Linked DNA regions of Homo sapiens: regions 2 and 3 are each linked to region 1. Evidence: promoter capture Hi-C in 16 types of primary human blood cells and fetal thymus (Javierre and others, 2016). All regions are on one chromosome and are shown on one strand. The core of a region is centred on a gene start or on the middle of the fragment in contact, and the rest is flanking DNA. Distances in the headings are between cores, read along the strand shown. Region 1 holds the start of ZNF256 (zinc finger protein 256). Region 2 holds the start of SLC27A5 (solute carrier family 27 member 5). Region 3 holds the start of ZNF324 (zinc finger protein 324).

Evidence for each region. Contacts are between HindIII fragments. The CHiCAGO score rates a contact against its expected background, and 5 or more counts as called.
Region 2: a contact is called between the fragment with the promoter of SLC27A5 here and the fragment with the promoter of ZNF256 in region 1, in 1 of 17 cell types (neutrophils). The highest score is 5.1, in neutrophils.
Region 3: a contact is called between the fragment with the promoter of ZNF324 here and the fragment with the promoter of ZNF256 in region 1, in 2 of 17 cell types (total B cells and neutrophils). The highest score is 8.4, in total B cells.

Annotation. Positions count from the first base shown.
Region 1 is chr19:57,945,850-57,950,228 of GRCh38, reverse strand. ZNF256 (zinc finger protein 256) reads left to right here and starts at 2,523. Exons shown (of 3, transcript NM_005773.3): 1 at 2,523-2,787. The coding sequence starts at 2,755. RefSeq lists enhancers at 2,285-2,374, 2,445-2,544, 3,035-3,114. The HindIII fragment of the contact is 12,388 bases long and covers 1-4,379 here.
Region 2 is chr19:58,509,914-58,514,292 of GRCh38, reverse strand. It overlaps SLC27A5 (solute carrier family 27 member 5), which reads left to right and starts at 2,301. Exons shown (of 10, transcript NM_012254.3): 1 at 2,301-3,025; 2 at 3,363-3,572; 3 at 4,288-4,379. The coding sequence starts at 2,338. It overlaps LOC105372485 (a long non-coding RNA gene), which reads right to left. Exons shown (of 2, transcript XR_001754024.2): 2 at 3,170-4,379. ZBTB45 (zinc finger and BTB domain containing 45) reads left to right here. Exons shown (of 3, transcript NM_001316979.2): 3 at 1-763. The coding sequence ends at 239. RefSeq lists silencers at 30-229, 250-299 and an enhancer at 2,084-2,598. The HindIII fragment of the contact is 7,866 bases long and covers 1-4,379 here.
Region 3 is chr19:58,464,929-58,469,307 of GRCh38, reverse strand. It overlaps ZNF324 (zinc finger protein 324), which reads right to left and starts at 2,228. Exons shown (of 4, transcript NM_014347.3): 1 at 2,125-2,228; 2 at 2-128. The coding sequence starts at 122. RefSeq lists enhancers at 728-847, 1,266-1,880, 1,881-2,497 and silencers at 1,979-2,108, 2,189-2,238. The HindIII fragment of the contact is 6,014 bases long and covers 370-4,379 here.

The DNA of each region.
Region 1 (4,379 bases), core at 1,274-3,773:
GAGACTATCTGTATGCAGGTGTGAGCTACTCCCTTCAGGTTTCCTGAGGGCTGTTGGGTTGTCCAATAAAACCCTTCTCTGCCTTGCTCACCCTCCAGTTGTCTGCATAACCTCATTCTTCCTGGACGTGGGATAAGAACTTGGGGGACAAGAACTTGGGACCTAACGAACAGCAGGAGAGAAAGGGGCTGTAACACATTCCTGGCTGAGTAGCCATGCTTCTGGGCTGCATGAGTGAAAAATGGCGACTCTTCTGGAGGCCCAGACTTTGGGATTCCCCGAGCCAGAGCTGTAACACTATAGCCCTCCTGCCCTCAGCCAGCACTGGGTGGCCGCCCCCCACGATGGGAAGCAGCAGCGAGCCAGAGCAGGGCAGCGGGACTGAAAGAGCTATATCACAAACAAGCTGAAAACACACCCCACCCAAAACACACCTCCCCGCTTGCCAGGCTGCAAGCAACGGGAAGGAGAGAAGAGCTGTGGCTCTTCCGGGAGCCCAGGCCTCGAGACTCCGGAGCCAGGGCTGTGACATGCTGCAACACCCTCTTTGGGGTTCTGCTGTTCTTGGTGTCTCCGAGCTTTCCGGCGCCACCATTTTTCCCTCGTCTAGATGCTGGTGCCTGCAGCAGAAGCCGCCTGCAGTATGTCTGGTCCAGTCGCAGACTTGCAAGGAGCCGGCGCCTGTGCCAGCGCCTGGAGCTGCCCGCCCCGCCGCAGCAGCCAGCGTGCCTGGCTGTGTGCACTGGCTGGACCCTTCACTTGCTCGCTCACACACCCCTTGCGGCTCCGCGCCTGGCTCGCCCTTGGTAGGTGTGGGATCCAGGTGCAGCCTGCTGGGCCGAGTGGGTGGAACAAGCCCAGCGGGTGTGAGCAAAACTCAAGCAGAGGCGCGACCACAGAGGTTTCTGGCTGGCGAAGCGACACCCATTATTAGTAGCTTTCTGTAATTTGTATTTTACAATTCTTTTTCTGATATCGTATCAATTTTTTATGCAGAACAGCCCTATAATAATGGGGGCAAAGGGCCGGGCACAGTGGCTCACGCCTGTAATCCCAGCACTTTGGGAGGCCGAGGTGGGTGGATCACCTGAGGTCAGGAGTTCGAGACCAGCCTGGCCAATATGGCGAAACTCCGTCTCTACTAAAAATACAAATACAAAAAAAAAAAAAAAAAAAAAAGATTAGCCGGGTACGGTGGCGGGCGCCTGTAATTCCAGCTACTTGGGAAGCTGAGGCAGGAGAATCGCTTGAACCCGGGAGACAGAGGTTGTGGTGAGCCGAGATCGCACCATTGCACTCCAGCCTGGGCAACAAGAGCGTAACTAATGGGGGCAAAGATAATCATTTCAGCGTTGAGAAGAGATCTTGAATTTAAGATACACCCTACATTTGGGATTCAGAGCACCCTTTGTTCCACCTGTTAATGCTCTAGCTAGCCATCATGCCTTTTCAAAATACCATTCCTTTTGTTGTTCTCTTTCTGAGCTTGATGTCAAATTATTAAAAAGAAGTGAATATAAAGGCATGGAGAAAGTGAGATTAGATTCATGCAAGTGTTGCTTAGTGAATTGGACACAATGTTTGACTACACAGGCACGAGAGGGACCCAGAGACAGGGATCTACTTATGTCCTGCTGCTGCAGGGTGCCTCCGCATCCCACCTTCATCCTCTTTGTCATGAACCTGTGTGGAGTGTTTTTTTTCTTGTCCCTAATCAAACATACAGAGACTGAGAAAACTGACTCCAGTGCTTGAGTGCATGCGTTTGAATTGCAACATAGTCTTTTTTTTTTTTTTTTTTTTTTTTTTTTTTTGAGACAGTGGCTCGCTCTTTCCCCCAGGCTGGAGTGCAGTGGCGCGATCTCGGCTCACTGCAAGCTCTGCCTCCCGGGTTCAAGCTATTTTCCTGCCTCAGCCTCCGGAGTAGCTGGGGACTACAGGCGCCCGCCACCACACCCAGCTAATTTTTCTTTTTTTTTTTTTTTTTGTGGTATTTTTTGTATTTTAGAGACGGGGTTTCGCTGAGTTAGCCAGGATGGTCTCGATCTCCTGACCTCGTGATCCGCCCGCCTCGACCTCCCAAAGTGCTGGAATTACAGGCGTGAGCCACCGCGCCCGGCCGCAACATAGTCATATTTATTTGCTTTCTCAACCAGTGGATATATTTTGTGACTGACTGACTGTATGTAATAATATGTGCATCTGGATATGTGCCTCTGGGAACACATGAAATGACACGTCTCCAAACAAACACTGGCAGACAGCAATCGGTAGAAACCTGGGTACGTCTCCTTTAAGAAAGAACGAAGCCTCGCCTCCGCCCCAACCTGGAGTGTCCATTTCCCAGCGCCCCCTACAGGGGTTTGGCCTTTACTTCCGGAAGGAGGTGGAGGCGACCCTCACTCTCCCGCCGTGCGCCTGTGGGAACATTACCCAGAATGGCCTGCGTTGGGCGACGGCGACCTTCAGCCAATGAGGCCTCCGAAAGGTGGTGTTTCCGTAAGCGCACGCGCGGTCGCGGCGGGACTTCCGTTGTCCTCCTTGTGGCGGTCGTTTTGGCATTTGTCTGGACTGATTACTTGGTAGAAAGCCCCGGAGCGCTGGGTCAGCATCATCCGTGACTGACTGAGAAGGCGCGAGAGGAGTCTTCCCCGCTGCACAGAGGCGTGGCTGAGGCTCGGCGGCGCCCAGGGTACCCAGGCCCGGCCCGGAATAAGGACATCCTCTCTGGCCCCGCTCCGCTCACAGAGTCAGATGGCGGCGGCCGAGCTGACGGCCCCGGCCCAGGTATGTGCCGCGTCCTCTGGGCCTTCCCCGCCCTCCCCACGCTAGTCCTAGCACCCCCGAGGGCGCTTGCTCGCGGCCCTGCTGCCCAGGACAGGACACGGGGGCTCGCCGGAGGGGCTCCCGTTTCCAACACCTGGTGTGCTAGGGAAGGGAGGGCGCGACTGGCAAGGAGCCCCTGATGAGAGGCGCCACTGAGCCCTGGGGCACAGAGGTGACACAGCCATTGCGAGGGCACCCGGCTCCAAGGCCAGGCATGGGGCTACGGGGTGGCTTGAGCCCATCTAATACCGCCATAGATGCTCTTCTCTGAGGCCTGGCTCTTTCTACGTTTCCCTTGGCTGTAAAGGGTTATGAAATCTACGCCAGGAAGGGGAGGGTTTCCCAGTCTCTCACTAGCCCTAACTCCCACCCACAGGTTCTCTGGGTTGTGGAGTGCCATTCCCCCAGCCCTTAGTTCTGAAGACCTTGGGTGAACCCCAAGCCCAGGGTCCTATGTCCATGTTAGCCGGTATATAGAGTTGTTCCAATTTCTGGCAGCCATGTGAACGGGTGTGGAAAGTTTTTCCAGAAAGGTACAAGATGTGCAAATGCTTAGGTGCAGTACGGAGCTGGGTGCATTTATGAAGCCACAAGTCTCCTTGCTTTCTGGTGGGAAGCAAAGAACAGGAGGATAGGCGTCAGGACTGCAGTGGCTGCCTGAGAAGTTGAGTGTGTTTTCAGGAGGTAATAGCAAGTTTGAATCAGAAAAAAGAGGTAATTTACCAAGGTCTTCACAGGCTTCATCTGTGTGCACAGTGGGGCACAAACTGGGGGGTTGAGGGAGGAGGAAGGAAAATCAGGGTAGACTAGTCCAAGTGAGGGTTACTGGCCCAGGATCGTGATTTAGGAGATGTGGTTAGATTCCGGATGTGTGGTTTCAAAAGGGACAACTAAATTACATAATGTAGGTGGTGAGGGAGTGAAACAGAGGGTTCAGAGAAGACTCCAGGGTTTTTGGTATTAGCAGCTGTAGGGAAAGAAGTTTCATCAACTAAGATGAACAAATTGGCAATAGGAGTAATATTCACTAGGGATATCAGGTTTGTTTATGCCATGCTAAGAGTCAGATCTTTCAGAGCCTACTAAATGGAGGCGTTAAGTGGGCAGATGAACGTGCCGGTCTTGAAATCTAGGGAGTGGTTCAGGGTGCAGATATTCAAGATGTGGCTGTTGTGCGCACCAAGGTTAGTGAGCTGTGGGTCACAGTTAGGCGGGGCAAGCTCCAGGTTTTGGTTGTAAAGCTGTTAGTGGGCCAAGACTGGGAGGATGATGATAGAGTAAGTGGTCATGAAGGCAAGGTATGTAAAAGACAGTGTAGTTTGGCAGTGGCCACGGCTCCCAAGAGAAGAATGGACATGAGATGGATGCAAACGCATAGGACACTCAGGCCAAAACTCGTGCTTATTCACCACTTTATGGGTATCCAGGATTTTGTGATAACTTGATGGGGCCTGGGTGTTTCATTCAGGCTGGAAGATTAAGTTAGTGTCATGTGGTCATTTGTGAGAGTCATTGTGTGTGAGATGAACGACCAGTGAGGCTGGGATTTAAAT
Region 2 (4,379 bases), core at 1,052-3,551, 560 kb before region 1:
GCGCCGTGTGCTGGCGATCCTTCTCTCTACGCGACTACCTGCTCAAACACATGGTCACGCACACCGGCGTGCGCGCCTTCCAGTGCGCCGTCTGCGCCAAGCGCTTCACGCAGAAGAGCTCGCTCAACGTGCACATGCGCACTCACCGGCCCGAGCGCGCGCCCTGCCCCGCCTGCGGCAAGGTCTTCTCGCACCGCGCGCTGCTGGAGCGCCACCTGGCGGCGCACCCTGCGCCCTGATGGCGCTGGGGCCTGGCCTCGCCCACGGTGGATCCGGGGCCTCCCGCACAGTCGGCCACGCCCGCTGCGGGACCCGTGGTTCCCGCCACTAGACCACGCTCCCTCCTGAGCGCAGGTCCTCTCTCTCCCTTCACCCTTTCTCCATACCAGGGCCTAAGTCCGCCTTACTCCTCTCCTCCATGTACTTGAACCCTCCAGGTGGTGCCGGGCTGGGGCTGGGGCTGGTTAGACCACTTCTGAGAACTGGACTATTTCCTGCGTAAACCGGGCGCTCAGGCGCTTGGACCCGGCCCAAGATTTGACTCCGGTTCTCACCCCGCCCTCTCCTGGGGTGGTGGTGGGGGCTGGGGGGCCGCTTGCCTGCCCCAGGGTCAGGCTGGGCAAGGTCCCTAGCTCTCTACCCAAGCTGTTACTCCCTCATGGGGCGCCTAAGGAGACTCAAGTGGACCCATCATATATGGGGGCTGGGCCTCGGGACTCTCGCTCTAATAAAGGACTGTAGGCCATGGGGCCTAAACCACGAAGCTGTGAGCACCTGGATCAGTGCGTGCCTTGCCCTCATAGACAAGATGTGAGTGTCAGGGTTCAGCGTCCCTGTTCTTGGGTGGCATCCATGCGGCCCACAGGCTGTCCTGGGCAGGAACAGGATGGTCCACTTTGCCATCTAGGACCTCTATTCTGTAGGGGCTAAGGTGGGCTGCATATATAACCAGCACTTGGTTCTCTTGGATCCCTCAGTCCTGTGGGGAGTAGGATAGGCAGGCCACATCTGAGGTGGGTCTCCGAGAGGGAGGCCACGTGAAAGCCCCATCATACTCCTGGTTGCTGCTGTCCACGACCTTTAAGGCCCCTCCCATAGATCTTCCAGTCAGGCTCTAAGGGTCTTTTGGACTTAAGACTTCCCCTCCCCGACCTTGATGGACATGGCTGAGCACCTTACTTGTGGGGAGCCCAGGGGGATCTTTGGGGCCAGGTTGCACTGAGGGTATATAAGCCCCCATATATCTGCCCTTGGTGCTGGGGGCAAAGTTCAGGGAGGGCTCCGATGGCCGTGTTGGGGGCAGGAAACAGTGAGGGGTGGGATCCTGGGGCTGACTGCTGGGCGGTTGGGGACACCACCCCTACTGGCCAGCCAGTGTCCCAGGCCCCTGCATCCAGCGGAGAGAGCAGCCACTCTTTGCCCCTCTCCTCTTCAGCACAATAGTGGCTCCTAGCCTAGGTGCCCTGCCATAAGGATTTGGAGCTGGTGGAGTGGGGTATGGCCCCAGGCCATACCCCAGCCTGACCTGCCAGGCTCCTAGGCCAATGGCAGCTCCTCTGGGTTCACCTTCTGAGACTGCTTCCTCAAGGTGAGAGGCCAGGGCTTTCATGATCCAACTGTGTGCATCATGGGCTGACTTCAGTCTCCTGAACCCCAGGACTCCATCGTCGTCAAAGCCAGAGGTGGAGCAGAGAGTCAGAGCAAGCACATGGGTGGGGGGCAGAGCTGGGTTTGAATCCAGGCGATGCCAGTGTTCCTGTATTTACTGAGCACTTGCTGTATGCCTGGCAGGAGGGTACGATTCCTCGGATCATGGGACAAGGGGCTTAGCCTGGCTGAGCCCCTCTCCTCAGGGTTTCAGTGGGTGTCACAGGAGGACCTCCCAATGAGGTCCACCTTGCTGTCCTGTTGCTTTTCTGTTTGGCCTGATTGGAGTGTTCCCAAGGGCAGGGATTTCTGTGCTCTGAGTGTCTGGTACCCAGCAGGGATGGGAGGGGAGGCAAGGGAGTTAGATGCCAGCCCTGGAGGGTGGATGGGGCAAGCAGGACAGCAGGAAGGAGGCTAGTGGTGCCCAAGGGGCAGAGACCTGGGAACCCAGAGGCCAGTGATGGAAAGGGTTAGCGCCAGGCAGAGAGGGGCTGGACCCACACACAAGACCAGGCAGAGCAAACAAACGTAGAGGAGAAGGGCTGGGGGCAAAGTCCTGGGGAGAGGACCAGCCACTGTCAGCAGTGCCAGGGCCACCACCCCTGGGGAGGAGCCATTGGGCTACTCTTGAGGGGCCAGAGGTGAGCCTGAACACTCCACAGCTGCTGCTCCTAGGGAGGAGCTGGTACCATGGGTGTCAGGCAACAGTTGGCCTTGCTGCTGCTGCTGCTGCTCCTGCTCTGGGGCCTGGGGCAGCCAGTGTGGCCAGTCGCTGTGGCCTTGACCCTGCGCTGGCTCCTGGGGGATCCCACATGTTGCGTGCTACTTGGGCTGGCCATGTTAGCACGGCCCTGGCTCGGCCCCTGGGTGCCCCATGGGCTGAGCCTGGCAGCTGCGGCCCTGGCACTAACCCTCCTGCCAGCACGGCTGCCCCCAGGACTACGCTGGCTGCCGGCTGATGTGATCTTCTTGGCCAAGATCCTCCACCTGGGCCTGAAGATCAGGGGATGCTTGAGCCGGCAGCCGCCTGACACCTTTGTAGATGCCTTCGAGCGGCGAGCACGAGCGCAGCCTGGCAGGGCACTCTTGGTGTGGACGGGGCCTGGGGCCGGCTCAGTCACCTTTGGTGAGCTGGATGCCCGGGCCTGCCAGGCGGCATGGGCCCTGAAGGCTGAGCTGGGTGACCCTGCGAGCCTGTGTGCCGGGGAGCCTACTGCCCTCCTTGTGCTGGCTTCCCAGGCCGTTCCAGCCCTGTGTATGTGGCTGGGGCTGGCCAAGCTGGGCTGCCCAACAGCCTGGATCAACCCGCATGGCCGGGGGATGCCCCTGGCGCACTCTGTGCTGAGCTCTGGGGCCCGGGTGCTGGTGGTGGACCCAGGTGAGGGCCTTGGAGCCAGTGGAGAATGGAAGGGGGCAAGGGCAGGGACTATAGGACAGGGGTTCTGCTGGGACTGGCAGAGGCCCTTGGTCCCCACCTGCCTACTTTCACAGGCAATTATAATCAAGACTTATGAGCAGAAAGTAGTTCTCAGGTCATCAGAGTTTAATTTTCCCACAATTTGACCAAAAATACTAATGATGGGATTCTTTACCAAACAACATGGATGCTTTTCTCTACTAGCTGCTCCTCTGCCTGCATCTGTGGGTCTCAGATCCCGCCTCGCAACCTCAAAGGTGAGCCTTGCCTCTGTTTCTCCTCTGACCCATCTCTGCAGACCTCCGGGAGAGCCTGGAGGAGATCCTTCCCAAGCTGCAGGCTGAGAACATCCGCTGCTTCTACCTCAGCCATACCTCCCCTACACCAGGGGTGGGGGCTCTGGGGGCTGCCCTGGATGCAGCGCCCTCCCACCCAGTGCCTGCTGACCTGCGTGCTGGGATCACATGGAGAAGCCCTGCCCTCTTCATCTATACCTCGGGGACCACTGGTGAGGGTGCCCATTAGCCCTAGCACCAGCCTCTGAACTCTCAGGCTGACCTGACCCCACACTTGACTTGTGACTCAGTGTTGACCTCTGAAACCACTTTACCCTCTGATTTTGACATTTGTTTTTTGTTTGGCTGTTTTTTTTTTCGAGGCAGAGTCTCGCTCTGTCGCCTAGGCTGGACTGCAGTGGTGCAATCTCGGCTCACTGCAACCTCCACCTCCTGGGTTCAAGCAATTCTCTTGCCTCAGCCTCCTGAGTAGCTGGGATTACAGGCACACACCACTATGCCCAGCTAATTTTTGTATTTTTGGTAGAGACAGGGTTTCCCCAAGTTAGCCAGGCTGGTCTCTAACCCCTGACCTCAGGGGACCTGCCCAACTCAGCCTCTCAAAATGCTGGGATTACAGGCGTGAGCCACTGCTCCCAGACTTGATTTTGATATTTGGCCTGAACTCTGACCCCCAATGTAATTTGAGAGGTCAATGCCAGAATTCTTCCTGTGTCCAGTAAACAGCCACTGAAACCTTTGATCTTGACATATTACTTTCAGTCCAAATTCAGCCTGTGAACCCAACCACAAATCCCTATACTTGACTGTTCTCTGAGAGCCTCAAACCCCAATGTAGGCCTGGCTGTTGGAGATCTATCCCTCTGGTCAGGCCCCTCTCTGTGCTGTCATGTCACCACCCTGCCCTTGCCATGCCTTCATCCCAAGGCCTCCCGAAGCCAGCCATCCTCACGCATGAGCGGGTACTGCAGATGAGCAAGATGCTGTCCTTATCTGGGGCCACAGCTGATGATGTGGTT
Region 3 (4,379 bases), core at 979-3,478, 520 kb before region 1:
CCCAGCGAGGCCACAAGTGCGAAGTTGTCTAGCATCACGCGGCGGTACAGGGCCCTCTGGGCTGTGTCCAGGAGCCCCCACTCCTCCTGGGAGAAGTACACAGCCACATCCTCAAAGGCCATCTGGTCCTAAAAGAGCAGGGAGGAAGAGACAGCCATGGTCTAAGGCTGGGTTATCCAATCTTTTGGCTTCCCTGGGCCACATTGGAAGAAGAATTGTCTTGGGCAACACATAAAATACATTAACACTAATAACAGCTGATGAGCTAAAAAAAATAAAAATTGCATAAACATCTCATGTTTTAAGAAAGTTCACGAACTTGTTTTGGGCTGCATTCAAAGCCATCCTGGGCAGTGGGTTGGACAAGCTTAGTTTAAGGTATGGCTGTGAGCCAGGACCAAGCTCCCCATCCCAACAGCCACCTTCCATGATGTCCCTCAGACACTCACCCTCCTTCCCTGGGTTCTGCCCCCACCATCTTCAGATGGCACTTCCCTCACATGTCTGGGACCCCTCCCCTCTGCCCTCCCTGACCAGACCCCAGATGCCTTCTTGGCCTCCCCACTGGCAACGCCATACACAAGCAAGCTAGAACAAGTCCTGGCTGGGCCCTCAGCTGCCACACCAAGAGCAGCCCCAGGTGTCCACTCGTGACTCAGCATGACCACTCATGACCCTCCCCAGATGCACCCTTCCTGCTCTTGTAGCAAGAAACTGTGAGTCCCAGCAGGGGCTTCCCAGGCATACCCATCACTGGGACCCTCCCCTGCTGAGCCTGCTTGCCTGACATTTCCAGGCTGCTCATCCAGCCTGAGGGACTGGATGATTCTCACCAGTCGCCACAGGGGAGCAGCCTCAACAACCTGTGAACACAGAGGAACTCAATCCCTTCCTCCTTTCACCCGGTGTCCCCTTTCTTCCCCTCTCTGTTGCCACCCTCCCCTCCTCAGTTAGGTGCTAGGCTCTTCCCAATAGCCCCAGGCATCCCAGCTGGTCTTCTTTACCCTCAAGCCATAACTGCCCACACCTGGCTGAGTCCCTGCCCATTCCTCAGTCCAATTCATAGGCCCTGTCCACAGCCCAGGACGCCAACAACGTCAGGTCCAGTGACATGACCAACCTGGGACATCCCAGACTCTTGATCTTTCCCCTGAAGGAAACCTGCTTTCCTTTCAATTCTCCTTTCTATCTACAGCAGCTCTCTTCTTCCAGGCGCTCAGGCTGAACAACATGGGGTACTTAGTTCTTCAAACAGCCCACACCTGATGCATCCGCAGATCCACCAGAATTCACCTGGTCGCCCACCTCCACTGCTGCCCAGACTGTGGCAGTCGGTTCTTCCCTTCATGCCGACACCCCTGCATGTCTGTTCTCCACGCAACAAACGGTGGAACCGTTTTAAAGTCCTCAGAGGATGTCCTGATTCTGTTCAAAACTTCTATGTCTCCCGACGCCCTCGAGATAAAGCCCACTCCCTCGCCTGATACTGCAGCCGCACACATCCCCTCTACTCCAGCTCCACATCGAGAGAGCTCAGTCCCAGAAGCACCTGGGCTTCGGCTCCCCTCCCAGGTTTTGCACACGCAGGACTCTCCCCTCGGAGCCTCCTTCGGGACCTCAGCCCCCTGGCTGCCCGAACTCGGGAGCTCACCAGTGCCCTGGACGCAGGAGTTTGCACTGACCCCCGCAACCCCCCCAGGGCAGGGAGAGGAAAGACGACTAGGCGAGGTCTAGGAAGCGGCCTCCCTCCGTGAGGGCGCGGTCTGTGTGAGCAGGGACTCCCCTGCTTCCCCGACGCGGGCTTGTCAGCGCCACCGCCGCCAGCGGAACCCGCAGCTGGGAGGGAAGAAAGGCGTGGACCACCCAGCCTTTCCCCGCCAGCAGCGTCCCGGGGCCGCCCCGCGCCTCAGTCTCCCCGGCCATCATGGACGTGGAACGCCCAGCGCGCAGCCTCCTGGGCTGCCGCACGGTGGGAGAGCGCATGGCTCCCGCCGCGGCCCGACAGTCCCCTGGACGCCCACGACGCACTCTGAGAAACAGAGGCTTGGGGGCGCGGCCGGCGGCCGGCGCCCTTGATCACGACGCGTGCGCAGGGCGGGCCCGACGCGGGCCCTCAGCCAGTACCTTCCTCGCCGCCAGCCTCGAGCACCAGGAACCCCCTGGAAACCGGACCCGACCCGCGGTCCCCAGCCCAGACCACCGGTGTGGCCTGACGCGGGCGGCGAAGTGACAGTCCCACCGCCGGAAGTCCAGCCCTTCGGTTCTCATTGGCCCAGTGCGCGCCGCGGACGCTTGCGTACAGCCTTCCGGGTCACGTGGTTCCCGCCTGTTTCCCTGCGTGGAGGCGGGGCCACTACCGGTCTCCTTGGCAACGTCCAAGCCCCTGCCGCGCGGGGCGCTGGGAAATGGAGTCGCGCGGCGGCCTCGGGTTTTCAAGGGCTTGGTGGCGCTGGTGGATTCGCCCGGTGTGTAGTCCTGCCTTCGGCATTCCAGGTGTCCTCCCAAGCAGTCCCGGAGACTAAACCCTGCAGGTGCGAAAGCAGAAACTGCCGAGGTTCCAAGAGGCAACACCAGCAGTGAGCACGGAGGAGAAAATGCACCGGGTAGCGCAGGTGGAGGTGGAGGAGCCGATGCCTGGAGCTCCGGGTTCCCTTCCCAGCTCTGCCTCTCACTGACTGTGCGTCCTGGGCGCGGGTTTGACCTCTCTGTGTCAATGTCCCGTAAAGGTTTAAGGTCCGTTTTCAACCTTTACACCAAGAATTCTCAGCCCGTAAGCCTACATTTGTCTTAAGTATGAGACTGTTCCTCGACACTTGCCCAAAGCATCTGTTTTCCTTGTAATTTGGATGGGCAGAAGTTAATTCCCCAGATTTGCTTGTCCTTAGACCATCTAGATCTTGTCTTGCCCCACACATCACAATATTCATTCTTTTTTCCTTTTTTCTTGGGACTCATTTAAGTTTTTTTTTTTTTTTTTTAACAGGGTCTTTGTTCTGTTGCCCGTGCTGGAGTGCAGTGGCACAATCTCGGCTCACTGCAACCTCTGCCTTCAGGTTCAAGTGATCCCCCCGCCTCAGCCTCCGTAGTAGCTGGGACCACAGGTGTGCGCCACCATGCCTGGCTAATTTTTGTATTTTTTAGTAGAGATGGAGTTTCACCATGTTGGCCAGGCTGGTCTTGAACTCCTGACCTCAGGTGATCCGCCCACCTCGTTCTCCCAAAGTGCTGGGATTACAGGCCAATTTAAGTGTCTTTGACACATAAAAACGAAAGGCAGAGCAGTCTCAATGTAGACTGTCTTGTTTGGCAGATAATAAAAGGTTCTTTGTCTTGTTTTTGGAACCTGTAGACAGTTCTCAGCTGTCCAGTTCCTTAACTCTTTTTGCCTCCCTCCCTCTATACCTACCTCCATCTATAACTATCTCTCTGTCAACTGTCAGCTATAACTGTCCACCTAATTGATTCTACTTGTAAATCCTTGTAGAGCAAGGGAGCTCATCATGTTTGGAATGTTTTAATATAAATTTTGCTACTTTGAAAGAATTTAAGAACATTTCAGGACTGGGCGCAGTGGCTCACACCTGGAATCTGAGCACTTTGGGTGGCCAAGGTGAGCGATCACTGGAGCCTAGGAGTTTGAGACCAGCCTGAGCAACAAAATGTGACCCCATCTTTATAAAAAAATATAAAAATTAGCTGAGCATGGTCTTGCATGCCTGTAATACCAGCTACATGGGAGGCTGAGGTGGGAGGATTGAGTTCAGGAGTTGGAGTGTGCAGTGAGCTATGATGGAGCCCCTGCACTCCAGCCTGGGTAAGAGAGAGACCCTGTCTCAGGAAAAAACAAACAAAAACCCTGAGGGGGAAAAAAAAAACCCCAACACTTAGAAGTATTAAAGTTCAGGGCCGGGCGCGGTGGCTCACGCCTGTAATCCCAGCACTTTGGGAGGCCGAGGCGGGTGGATCATGAGGTCAGGAGATCGAGACCATCCTGGCTAACAAGGTGAAACCCCATCTCTACTAAAAATACAAAAAATTAGCCGGGCGCGGTGGCGGGCGCCTGTAGTCCCAGCTACTGGGGAGGCTGAGGCGGGAGAATGGCGTGAACCCGGGAAGCGGAGCTTGCAGTGAGCCGAGATTGCGCCACTGCAGTCCGCAGTCCGGCCTGGGCGACAGAGCGAGACTCCGTTTCAAAAAAAAAAAAAAAAAAAAAAGGAAGTATTAAAGTTCAAAAACCCTGAAGAAAAAAAACCCCAACACTTAGAACTATTCAAGCTGTGGCCGGGCGCTGTGGCTCACGCCGGTAATCCCAGCACTTTGGGAGGCCGAGGTGGGCGGATCTTGAGGTCAGGAGATCGAGACCATCCTGGCTAACACGG